Linked DNA regions of Homo sapiens: region 1 is linked to region 2. The links are contacts of gene promoters, found by promoter capture Hi-C in blood cells and fetal thymus (Javierre and others, 2016). All regions are on one chromosome and are shown on one strand. Each heading gives the region's core, a stretch centred on a gene start or on the middle of the fragment in contact. The rest is flanking DNA. Distances are from core to core; before and after follow the strand shown.

Region 1 (6,192 bases), core at 3,320-5,819, 610 kb after region 2:
GTTGTGTTTCATTTAATTACCAGAGCTGGGGCTTTGAGGAGACTTCCCATGACATCGGAGCAGCTCTGTAGGTGGAAAAGTAGTTACCAGGGAGGAGGCCAACATTTCCCTTCCAAACCACCCACTGACACTTTTATAGAAATCATTTCATGTTGGAGAGAGGGCCCCAGGGTAATGTTAAAGCAGTTTTAATCATAGCTTCTAATTATAAACAGTAAGTCACTTCAACAATTTCTTGTGTCTCAAATACAATACAAAGAATAATTAACAGCCAGCAATAATTCTCAGGCTGGCAGAGTTACACAGCAAGGAATTTGAATTTTGTGTCTCAGTAAAGTAAAATGCTTTCTAGAATGTCTATCTACCTGATTTATTACAAGAGACAATTGACCTCTGGTCATACCAACAGCAGGTATTCCTGCAAGCACTCAGGATGTTACCCACCAACTGTGGAGGTAATTAACGCTCCTGTACACTCATGCCATTACTCACAGACAGTTAGGGTTGCAAAGCAGGTTATTGCAAACCACCCCAGGAGAGCTCCCAGTGCTCATGTATGTTTGAAGCAAATACTACCAAATCTTGGTAGTGGCTATTCAGTAATGATCTTATCAATGCTTTCATTTTTCTTCTTTATATCTTTATTGTCTTCCAAATCCTGTGTGATGAACTGGTATTCCTTTTACAATCAGAAAGCAATTAATGTTTCATACAAAAAATCCCTGAGAGGCACTTAACCTTTCCCACACCCTTCAAGCTGCAATCCCAGCTGATTTTCCCTCCTCTGAGACTTTCCAACCTGCCCATGCTCTCCAGCCTCCGTCCCTGGATCCCCCAGCCTCCCCCTGCTCCTTGCTTCTGGGCTTGCTGTCCTTAACTTTAACTTTCAGCATTGGCAGAACAGTTAATGAAAAATGCATGATTTTACCTGTTGTAAAAAATAACTGTAACTCAGCCATCCCGCTTCGTGTGCTCCTTTGAAATATTGGACTTCTTGACTTCCAGCTATGCAAATGGGGAGAGACAAAGAGGATATCTGGGAAATGGGGCTTATGGTCACACCTAAAAATTGGCTTCTATTACATCTATTCAGATTCTGTTGTCCAGAATTCAATCACACAGCCCCAGCAGAGCTGCAGGGGAAACTGAGAATTGCCTTATTTGTCTGCCCAGGAGAAGGAAGTGGGGTTGGAAATGGGATGTCATCAGGTTTTGTAGCACAAGATCAGAGTCCAGAGATCAGGTCTTGCTGCAGCGCAAGACCACAGGAGGAGTCCACAGTGCAGTGCCCAGTGTTCCCCATGGGCCCATTGACTGTGCTCTGGTCTCCTGACCTCAGCTGATGTGGGATCCACTTCCAGCACATTACATTAGATAGGCCGTTATTCCTCCTGGAAACTCAAATAGCCAGGCACTTAATAAACGGCTCAATCCCATTCTTACTTCAAGCCATAAGGATATCTATGTAGAGTCCCCAAAGTAAACACACAAACTAATGACCGTGGGTTGCAATAGATATTTTTTATTCCCAATATTTCAAAAAACATCCTTTCTCCCACACTCTGCTAGAATTCAGCTTATCAGAAATTTATTTATTTTTCTTCTTCTGTGGAAGTAAAGAGAGAGATCTGCTTGGAACCATCCTCAGAAAATATGAAACAGCTTTGAGTGCAAATGTATGATGCCTGCTCTCATGCCTCTCACTTATGAAGTAGGGGAAGATGTTCCTTATTGTTGTTTGCTGCAGGTCTTGTCTGAGTTTGTGTTTGTAGAGTGCTCACTTAGTCTGAGATGTTCTTCAGAGCATCTGTGCCATGATTCTTCTGCGGCTTCCACCTGCACTGGGTGACACTAGCCTGGGACTAAAGCTTCCTCCTGCTGCCTCACTCACTGTGCCCCCAGCCAACGGCCTCACCCCTCCATGCTCTGCAGTCCTCAGGCTCCAGCTCGATGATACCCTTGCATCTTCCACTGTCTTTGTGGAAGTGGAGGGGGATCTTGTCTAATCTGCCCTGTCCTTGAACCACCTTCCCTTACTCCCTGTGGATGCGTCTCATCTCTTCTTTCCTTTTCTGCTTGAAAGAAGACACTGTAATATCTGCCTCTTGTACTCAGCTTTCACTCACTCTTCAATAAATGCCTTCTCCTTATACCAGAGATTGCCAATAGTCTGTCTGCAGTGAAGATCACCTTCTGAGCTCCTGGCTCATGTGGAAGGGTCTCATGTTTATGTCTTTCCATGTGCATTTCCCACATGCATCTCAAAGACATTGTTTCCTAAAACAAATTCAGATGTCCTGGGTGGCCATCTGGCTGTCCTGCTCGTGTGTGACCTTAGGTCATTTGCCTATCCTCTTTGTCTTCAGTTTTCTCTTTTGCAAAATGGAGATGCTGTGGGGTTGTAGGGAGACAACAGATACCAACTGCTCAGAAAAAAAAAAAAAATGCTTCCAGGTAGGTCTTACCTGATTTGCTTATTATTTCCAGTATTACTGTTATTTTCTTTCCTGCCCCAAACTGCTCCTTTTTTAGCCATCTCTTTTGCAGAGAATGGCACCCCTAGCTGCTCAGGCTCCGTACCCAGAAATCTCTCCCACCCTCTCACGTGCATTGCTAAGATTTACCAATCATCTCCAAAGTCTACCTTCAATATACGAAGTTGCCTCTCTCTCTGGCATTCTCTCATCTTGCCTGGATTGCTGTGAGCATCCTGGGTGCCCCCCTTCCATTCTTGCGCACCCCAGTCCACTGGAGTGACCTGGATCACACCAGCCCTAGCATCAAAGCACTCAGTGGCCCATGTGGCTCAAATGAGACCCCTCACTATCACCTTCTGTGGCCTCTGGCTCTTCTCCTTAATTACCCCTCGCAGATCCTGTCATCTGCCTCAACCACCAAACTACAAGGTTCCGGAAGGCAGAGCAGAAGGGCTCGCTGTCTCTACTCTATCCCAACGATTAACATGCAATGGGCGCTCAAGAAACATATGTTGGAGTAAAAATTGAAAACTTCTACTTATTGAATTAATGTGGGCCCTCACTTCTCTTTGGAGCTATTCCTCAAAGTGGCTGAATCCAGTGCCTTTTCTTATTGTTCGTTTTCACAGCACAGTTCTCCTGGCTCTCAGCCCGCTAATGGCTTTCTCTCTGCTGGAGCTATTATTGAAGATTCCTTCTTCCTTTTTTTTTTTTCTTTAAGCGGCCAGGACCTACTTCTTTATCTGCCAAAACACATTCAGAATTGGGTGAACATGGCTCTTCTTCCATTAGACTCTTCCTGCCCCTCCTCAATCACTGGTAGCCTCTGCTTCCCATGAGTGCCCTGCCACGTCGTGCTTGTCCTTTGGAACTTGGCAACTTCTGCCTTGTTTGATACAGACATTATGCATGTTTGTCTGACCCCAATGGCTACTTGTTCCCACCAATCCAGGATGGCTCTGTGCAAACCATAGGCATTTAATATCTTCTATTATTTGTAGTTCTACTCTGGGGGCGAGAAAAGCAAAAGTGATGGCAACATGCTGGCCGTGAGGGACTCACGATGCTAATGCAAAGAAACAGCTCATCCTGCCCAGCTATCCCCGCTGACTTCATTCCAAAACATGTGCTGTGGTGTGGATACAGCTCCAGGCTAAGTTTTCACTGTTTACCTAAAAAGATTCATCCTATATTTAAAATGCTTACTTGATATGTGGTCACAAGTTTTTTCTTAAGATATATAGAAGATTGAGTCTGTCATATCTGAATAATAGTAACTAGTTAATAATCTGTTATAAAATAATCTGTTTTCAGCCATCTAAATATATGAGTTCTCTAGGAAAACAATGTTCTGTCTGTTTCTCAGCTTAACATAATCTAGCTTTAATATTGTCTAGCTTTTTAATATATTCTAACTTTAAATCTGGAAACACACACACACACACACACACACACACACACACACACACAGAGTTAATTGTGGCCGATTACATTTTTTCAAAACTCAGTCCATTTCCTAAAGAATCAAGAAGTTTAGGAGAGGTGACTTAGTAACAGAAAATTAACAGTTCACTTATTTTAAACCTTAAAAATCATATCCTACTTGTATTGCTTACAACAATAGTTATGGGAGCATTTTCTGGAATATTGCATCACTGCAAATTATAAAATGTATGGCCTTGGAAGAATATGAATGAGAATATATATTTTTTATCCTGGATGATGGAAAATTTACTCAGCAAAAATGTATTTTCAGGCTACTCTATTATGTTCTCTCTTCCTCTCAGTTCCACTGGGTTTTAAGGAATACAGATATATATTTATTATACTTTTCTCTATTTCTTTGCAGCTAACTTTCAATTGCTGCATGTGTTATTAATCTTTAGGGTCAAACTTGGTTTCTGTTTCATAAAATCTCTGCCAGGGTGCAAGAGATTATGGTCATCAGGAATAGAATATATAACATGAAAAAGTCCATTTATATTATTTCTAAGTAAGCTTATGTTGCTTAAAATATAGTCTTATCTGAGTGTGTCACTTACTAAATAAAGGTGCTGTGAACAACTAAATATTTGAATTAAAAATGTCATTTCTATCATGTTCAAAATCTTGACTCATAGGAGTCTTCCTATGAATTCAAAGACCCTAAGCATTGACTTAGCTAAGGTCACTGCTGTCAAAGCTTAGAGGCGAATGCCCTTTAGTTTCCAATTAAGTGAATGTTTTTGAAGAATGTGCACATGAGGCATAAAACAAGGAAGCAAGATAATAGTTACAGAAGACAAAGACATGTAGTGTGAATTACACCCTCATGTATCCTGAGCCACTGATTAAAATGCTTTAGTTAAAAATAGACAGATAGGGCTCACGAGCGATAGATAGACCAACAGATAAATCAATTGATTGTCACACAGGAAGGCAAGGTCCTAGAACAGCTACAACTATTTTGAAAAAGCAAACTGAAGTGAATATTTTACCCGATAACTAGGTAAAATATTATTTAGCCATTCAAAGAATGATATCCTGTCATTTGCAACATGGATGGAACTGAGGGCCATTATGTTAAGTGAAATAAACCAAGCACAGAAAAACAAATATTGCATGTTCTCACTCATACATGGGAGCTAAAACATGGATCTCATGAAGATAGAGAGTAGATTGGTGGTTACCAGAGGCTGGGAAGGGGAGGAGGATGAAAGGGATAAAACGAATATAAATCTATTTATTACCTACAACTGAACTGTACATTTAAAAATGGTAAAGATGGTAAAAGACATGTGCATGTTTTACCTCAATTAAAAAATAGCTTTTTTTTTTTTTTGGTGTTCAGATGAAACGGTTCTGAATCTTGACTGGTGGTGGATATGTGAACCTGCACATCTAATAACATTATATACAACTACACACACGCACGTGTGCGCACGCACACATGCAGAGAAAACTGGGAGACCTAAGACGGGTGGATCATGTCAATGTCAACATCTTTTTTATTATTATTATTTTTGAGATGGAGTTTCACTCTTGTCCAGGCTGGAGTGCAATGGCGTGAACTTGGTTCATGGCAACCTCCACCTCCCAGGTTCAAGCAATTCTGCCTCAGCTTCCCGAGTAGCTGGGATTATAGGCGCCTGCCACCACGCCCAGCTAATTTTTATACTTTCAGTAGAGACGGAGTTTCACCATGTTGGTCAGGCTGGTCTCGAACTCCTGACCTCAAGTGATCCACCCGAATAGCTGGGATTATAGGCGCCTGCCACCATGTCCAGCTAATTTTTGTATTTTTAGTAGAGACGGAGTTTCACCATGTTGGTCAGGCTGGTCTCGAACTCCTGACCTCAAGTGATCCACCCGCCTCGGCCTCCCAAAGTGCTGGGATTACAGGCGTGAGACACCACGCCCAGCAATGTCAACATCTTGAACATGAAAGTGTAGTGTACTTTTTCAAGATGTTCCCATTGGGAGAAGCTGGGTAAAGGATACGTGGGATCTCTGTGTTATTTTCTACAATTGCATGTGGATCTGTAATTACCTCAAAATGTTTAACTAAAAAATAAATGGTAGTTAGGTCCAGTTTTTATAAGCTAACTCCTTCATATATTGTATTGGGGTCAGCTATCTCTGAGAGAAAAATCATACACAGAAGGCAAAATTAAAGTGAATCACTCCAGTAAAACAAGTATAAAATGATATAAAATATGCTGAAGTTCTTTATCAT
Region 2 (5,840 bases), core at 984-3,483:
ATGGCTGGGGTGGCCTCAGGAAACTTACAATCACGGCAGAAAGCAAAGGGGAAGCAAGGCACCTTCTTCACAAGGTGGCAGGAAGGAGAAGCACTGAACAAAAGGGGAGGAGCCCCTTATAAAACCATCAGATCCTGTGAGAATTCACTATCACAAGAACAGCATGGGGGAAATGGCCCCCAGGATTCAATTATCTCCACTTGGTCACTCCTTTGACATGTGGGGATTATGGGGATTACAATTCAAGATGAGATTAAGGTGGGGACACAAAGCCTAACCATATCTCCATCCAAGAAGAAAAAGATGTAGGTAGCCTTGCCCTCAAGAGCTCTTGGTCTAGGACATGACAAAATGTCACCGACTGAACTGAAGTTAGCAGATTCACATCTGTATAACTGTGTAAACTTTACTAATTTCTTTTACTAAGAAATTATCTCGGTCTCAGTTTTAGCTGAATTCCCAAGATAATTGGTTTCAAGTACTTTCACTTTCCAAAGTATGATACTGGGTCACCAATGCAAAGCTTACAAAATCTTGTGACCATTAGTTGACCTCTCTTGTGTATTTGGAGACATTGAGAGAAGTTGAGAGAGGCAGTAGATTATAAGGGCTTAAAAAAAAAAAACATATTTGGCTGCTGCTTTAATGAGGCCAAAAAAGCAAAAAAGTATGAGTCATGCCTTTCATGACTTCAGCCCATGGGAGAAAAATAAGAGCCCCTTTTCCTTTGCTTCACATGTAGGAGAGATGGTGCTCCATCTCCAAGCACCAGGGATATGTCACCCTCTCCAAGTGGCTCCAATGAGGTTGCTAGGTCCCCTGGGGCTTAGAGACATGGTGGGCAGGTGTCTGACCCTTGACTCATGGCTGACTTGTGTTCTGCCTGGCCATGGAGCAAAAAGATGTGTTAGTGGGACAAAGAAGGCACATGGGTTTCTCAGGAAGCTCATGGGGACCCACGAGAGAGACAGATATAAATAAAAAGAGAGAGAAAAAGCGTGGTGGCACCGGGATGTCTTAAATCCTGCCCAGAAGGATCTCTAGAACTCTGGAGACCTCTACAGAGTGGATCACCAGGTGCCTCAGAATGAGAGAGGCATCTTAAGCCACCAGCCTGCATCACAGAATGGCAGACAAGAGATTCCTACCTAGTTGCAGGGATGGGGAAGAAGGCAGGGCACTGCTCCTTCCATCATCTGTAAGATCTCTCCATCAGGCCCCCACCTATCTGTTCACCTTCACTTCCTACCAGTTTCTGGCTTCATGAGGCCACACCACCCCACTTCCTGCTGCCATTCAAACACAAGATTGTCTCTGCCTCAGAGGACCAAGTTGGCTTGGAAGGGATTGCCAGACTCACAGAACTGGCTTCTCATTATCGCTATGCTTCATCTCAAACACCACCTTCTCAGCAAGGCTGGCCTTCCCAGGCACGCTGGCTAAAGCATTTCCCAAGCCTTGGTCATCATGGCTTTTTTTGTTTGTTTGTTTTTAACTTTTCTTGGCTGTACACCCACCAATCACGAGTATACAGCTTAACACATTTTCAACAAACGGAACGCAGGTATTGACCCAGCATTCAGATCAAGGGCCAACGTAAACACACTGGCAAAGGATTGCAAGAGCCCTGTCCACAGCAGCTGAGTTCTGCCAGATTCTGTAAATTCATGCAGCCTTACACCTGCACTGGCCAATACTGTAACTGCTAGCCACACGTGGCCACCGAGAGCTTGAAAGGCAGCTAGTGCCATTTGTTGAAATGATAACGTTTTGGACTTACTGAGTCAAATAAGAAACGACACACGTGGCTCTCATCATGTTTCTATTGGACAGCGCTGCCCTGGAGCCTCGGCAAGTCATTTGGCTTCTTCGCGTCTTTCATGTGTCTTCTCCAGACTGTAAGCTTCCTGTGGACAAGGCCTGCTCCGTTCAAGGCTCAATCTCCAGCTCCTGACACACCATGCGCTAGGTGCTCAGTCACTAATGGTCTCGCGAAGGAGTGATCAGTGAGTGAAGCAGGGGCTGCTGCATGGGAAAGGTGAGCGGGCTGGAAATGGGTAGTCCCCGCGGCGTCTCCCAGTCGGGCTCCTCCCGAGGAGGAAGGAAGGAGAGACCCCAGGTGTAGTCGAGGGGCCGGGAGGGAGGAGGGGAGGGTCGCTCCACCCTGGAGCGGGAATGCTGCAGGGCAGCTCCGGGTCGCCAGGCGGCGGTTTCCAGGCAACGACCGAACACAGACGCGGGCTAGACGCTGGCGCTGAGCAACCTGAGGCCTGCAGACTCCGACTGGGCCCCTGGGCGGGCGGGACGGACCGCGGCCAAGGCGGGGGCGCTGGACGGTGGCGGCATGGAGGACGACGAGGAGGAGACCACCGCGTCCACGCTGCGGGGCAAGCCCAGGCCGCCGCCCGTCTCGGCGCAGTCCGCCTTCAGCTACATCCCGCCGCGGCGCCTGGACCCCAAAGAGCACAGCTACTACTACCGCCCGGCGCGGGTGAGGACCGCGGACTGGGCGCGGAGACCGGAAGGCTGGGCGGCTGGGCGGCTGGGCGGCTGGGCGGCTGGGCGGCTGGGCGGCTGGGCAGGGGCGGGCGGCCGCGGAGGGGCGGGGGAGAAGGGATCACCCCAGCGGAAGGGTCTTGGGGCGGGGCTCTCCCTCGGAGGGAGGGCGTAGGGGCGGGGTTCACCTTAGGGAAAGGGGCCTGGGGGCGGGGCTCACCTTAGGGGCGGGGGCCTAGGGGCGGGGCTCACCTTAGGGGAGGGGGCCTGGGGGCGGGGTTACCTTAGGGGAGGCAGCCTGGGGGCGGGGTTCACCTTAGGGACTGGGGCCTTGGGGCAGGGTTCACCTTAGGGGAGGGGGCCTGGGGGCAGGGATGCGCCGCCGGGGACTGGAGAGAGGAGCTCACAACGAGGAGGGGCCCTGGGAGGGGCTGCACCGCTAGGGATCGGGGACAGAGCTCACAGAGTAGAGGGGCCCTAGAGGAGGAGCGCACCTTCGGGCAGGGACCCTGGGGGCAGGGCTTCACTACCAGGGGTGGGTTCCGAGGGGCGGGGCTGGACAGCCTGTGGAGGGGGCCGGGTGGGAGCGTGCGGAGATGAAGGGGGCGCGGCAGGGTCAGCTGGGGAGACAGGGAGGGTGAGCTCCCGCCAAGGCGCCTGGGCCCCAAAGAGTACAGCTCAGGCGACTACCAGTGTCAGCTGAACCCCTGGGACGAGGATGTGGGAGAAGCCGGGTGCGCGAATGGGTGTCTTAGCTGCGATCAGGGGCTGGGAGTCGCGGGAATGCTCAGATAGGACCCGGTGCTCTTCGGAGAAGGGAGCGGGAGCCACTAGGTGTCAGGATCCCTCAAAAGCACAGTGGCTCTGTCGGGACAGCAGGGCGCTCTTTCTGCCCAGGGTCTGGAGGGGGTCGCGGGAAGCCGGGGCCGCCCAGCGGGCTGGGCGCGGCTCCCTCTGGGGTCTGTCTGCGGCAGGCCCAGGCTAGCAAGGAAAGAAGGCCTTGCTGCCGGGACTACGCCCGGATGGTCCAGGGCGCGGGAAACCCTCTGCCCTCCTGCAAACCGAAGACCAGAAGGAATAGCTGGCGAGCCGCCTGCAGGGAGGGCTGGACTGAGAGTGGTCCCTCTGTTCTGTCCTGGCCACACCGGCCCGTGCATTTCCTGGGATGGGATCTGCGAGTCTGCGAAGGCCACTGGGCACCCTGCATCTCCCACCAGCGGCCAAAGGCAGGAAAAGTAGTAAATTCAAAGCCAGTTGAGGGTCATCTACTCCTTTCTTCTCACCATTGTTCCTAAATGTCCCCGGTTTGTCTTGCTCAAGATGCAGGGGCAGGGGAGTCATTACTGAAAAGGAGCATTCATTGAGGACCCTCAGCCTGCAGGCGTAACTGGGACAGGTCTTTCTAATTCTAGCTGTCCTGGTGGCTTGAGTGGGTAGAGAGGGATATAGATTAGCCAGGTGTCTAGGGGGAAGGAGATCGTTCCCTTATGGTGTATAAGGTGTTCCCAGAAAATGCATCCTTCCTTTCCCCACCTCCTGCCCCCACCATCCTAGACCCTAAATAAATTCCCCTTCTGACTGGGTTAGCACACACTGGCCTGCATGCCACACATAAAGTGTAAGCACTCTTGGACAGCCTCACCAACAGAAGCAATCGTGTTTCTAGTTTAGACAACTGCTGTCGGTTGAATTGTGTCCCCTTGAAATTTATGTTTTGGAGTCTTAATCCCCAGTACCTTAGAATGTGAACTTATTTGGAAATAGAATTTTACAGAGATAATCAAAATAAAATGAGGCCACTAGGATGAGCCCTATTCCAGTATGACTGGTGTCTTTGAGAAAAGGGGAAATTTGGATATATAGAGACAGACATGCATGTATTAGTCCTTTCTCACACTGCTAATAAAGACATACCCAAGACTCGGTAATTTATAAAGGAAAGAGGTTTAACTGACTCACAGTTCAGCATGGCTGGGAAGGACTCAGGAAACTTATAATCATGGCAGAAGGAGATGTAAATATGTCCTTCACGTGGCAGCATGAAGAGGAATGAGTGCACAGTGAAGAGGCAAGACCCTTATAAAACCATCAGGTCCTGTGAGAACTAACTCACTATCACGAGAACAGGATGGGAGGAACTGCCCCCATGATTCAATTATCTCCAGACGGTCCCTCCCAGGACATGTGGGAATTATGGGAACTACAATTCAAGATGAGATTTGGGTAGGGACACAGCCAAACCATATCAGGGAGGATGATGTAAAGGGACACAGGGAGAAGACAGCTGCCTACAAGCCTCAGGGAAAGGCCTGGAACAGGGCATTCCTTCACAGCCAACTGCTTGATTCCATACTTCTGGTGCCAGTACTGTGAGACAGTGAATTCTGTTGGTTAAGCCACGTCATCCATGGTACTTAGTTTGTGCAGCCCCAGCTGACAAATACGGCAGCCATAAACCTCAGCCTGCTCCCAGGAGGATCTCTGGTATCTGATAGCTCCTCTCTGCTTGGCTTTGAGCAATATGCAAGGACAGGGGGAAAAGGGACATTTGCAATCAGATCTGTCTCTGCAGCCCTGTTTGCCTGTTCTCCCAGGCTCGATTATCCTCTGAATATTAAGACAGGAGGGAAACACGAGGGAATGGTAAGTTCCCAATCTCATTGCCACCAGGGACTTCATTTTTTTCCTCCTGGGAGCAATATGTTTTGAAAGAACTGTTACCTATACATAATCTCATTTATTAAATGAATTTTACATTTTAAGTATGCAATACTCATGTGACTGCCAATCAGCTTATGATTAATGCATAGCAGTAATGCACCGCATGAGATAAACAGTGGAAAAAATAAGGAGTGTTTTTGTGTTAACTTGTTCTATGCTGTTATGTTGAAAGGAAATAAAATTCATCTGGCTGTTGGACAGAATAAAAACATTGGTAATAATGCCATTTGAGGGATCCTGTAAATAAGATGGGGGCACCAGGAAAAAGAGCAGAATCTGCATCTCCTGTGGGCCAGCTACTGCCTAGGGAAAGGCGGTGAAATTGATCCTGGCAGGCACAGTTCATTCTTGCATTTACCAGTCTAATTAACGTCTCCACCTTCCTGGGACCAAACTAACCAAAGGGCAGAGAGATGCCTGAAGTGTGAAGTGACTGGGACTCCATCACTTGGAAGGAGGTCCGCTGGGAGTGGGCTGGAAATCTGCCCCTTTAATGCTGGGGTCAGTAAACCAAGGCTCCTTGGCCAAATCTGGCCAGTTGCCTATTTTAATAAATAAGGTTTTCCTAGAACATAGTCTCACACCTATGTGTTTGCATGTCTGTGGTTACCGCAGAGAGCTGT

Evidence for each region. The method cuts DNA at HindIII sites, captures the fragments that hold promoters and counts their contacts. A CHiCAGO score of 5 or more calls a contact.
Region 1: a fragment that was not itself captured here is called in contact with the fragment with the promoter of CFAP90 in region 2 in 2 of 17 cell types (M1 macrophages and M2 macrophages); the score reaches 5.7 in M1 macrophages.

The regions. Positions count from the first base shown.
Region 1 is chr5:7,239,468-7,245,659 of GRCh38, reverse strand. No RefSeq gene overlaps it. Among named protein-coding and RNA genes, the nearest start is that of LINC02123, 110 kb to the left of the region's middle. The HindIII fragment of the contact is 184 bases long and covers 4,478-4,661 here.
Region 2 is chr5:7,847,526-7,853,365 of GRCh38, reverse strand. It overlaps CFAP90 (cilia and flagella associated protein 90), which reads left to right and starts at 2,233. Exons shown (of 3, transcript NM_001089584.3): 1 at 2,233-2,491. The coding sequence starts at 2,345. It also overlaps a transcript of MTRR not described here. The HindIII fragment of the contact is 6,768 bases long and covers 1,906-5,840 here.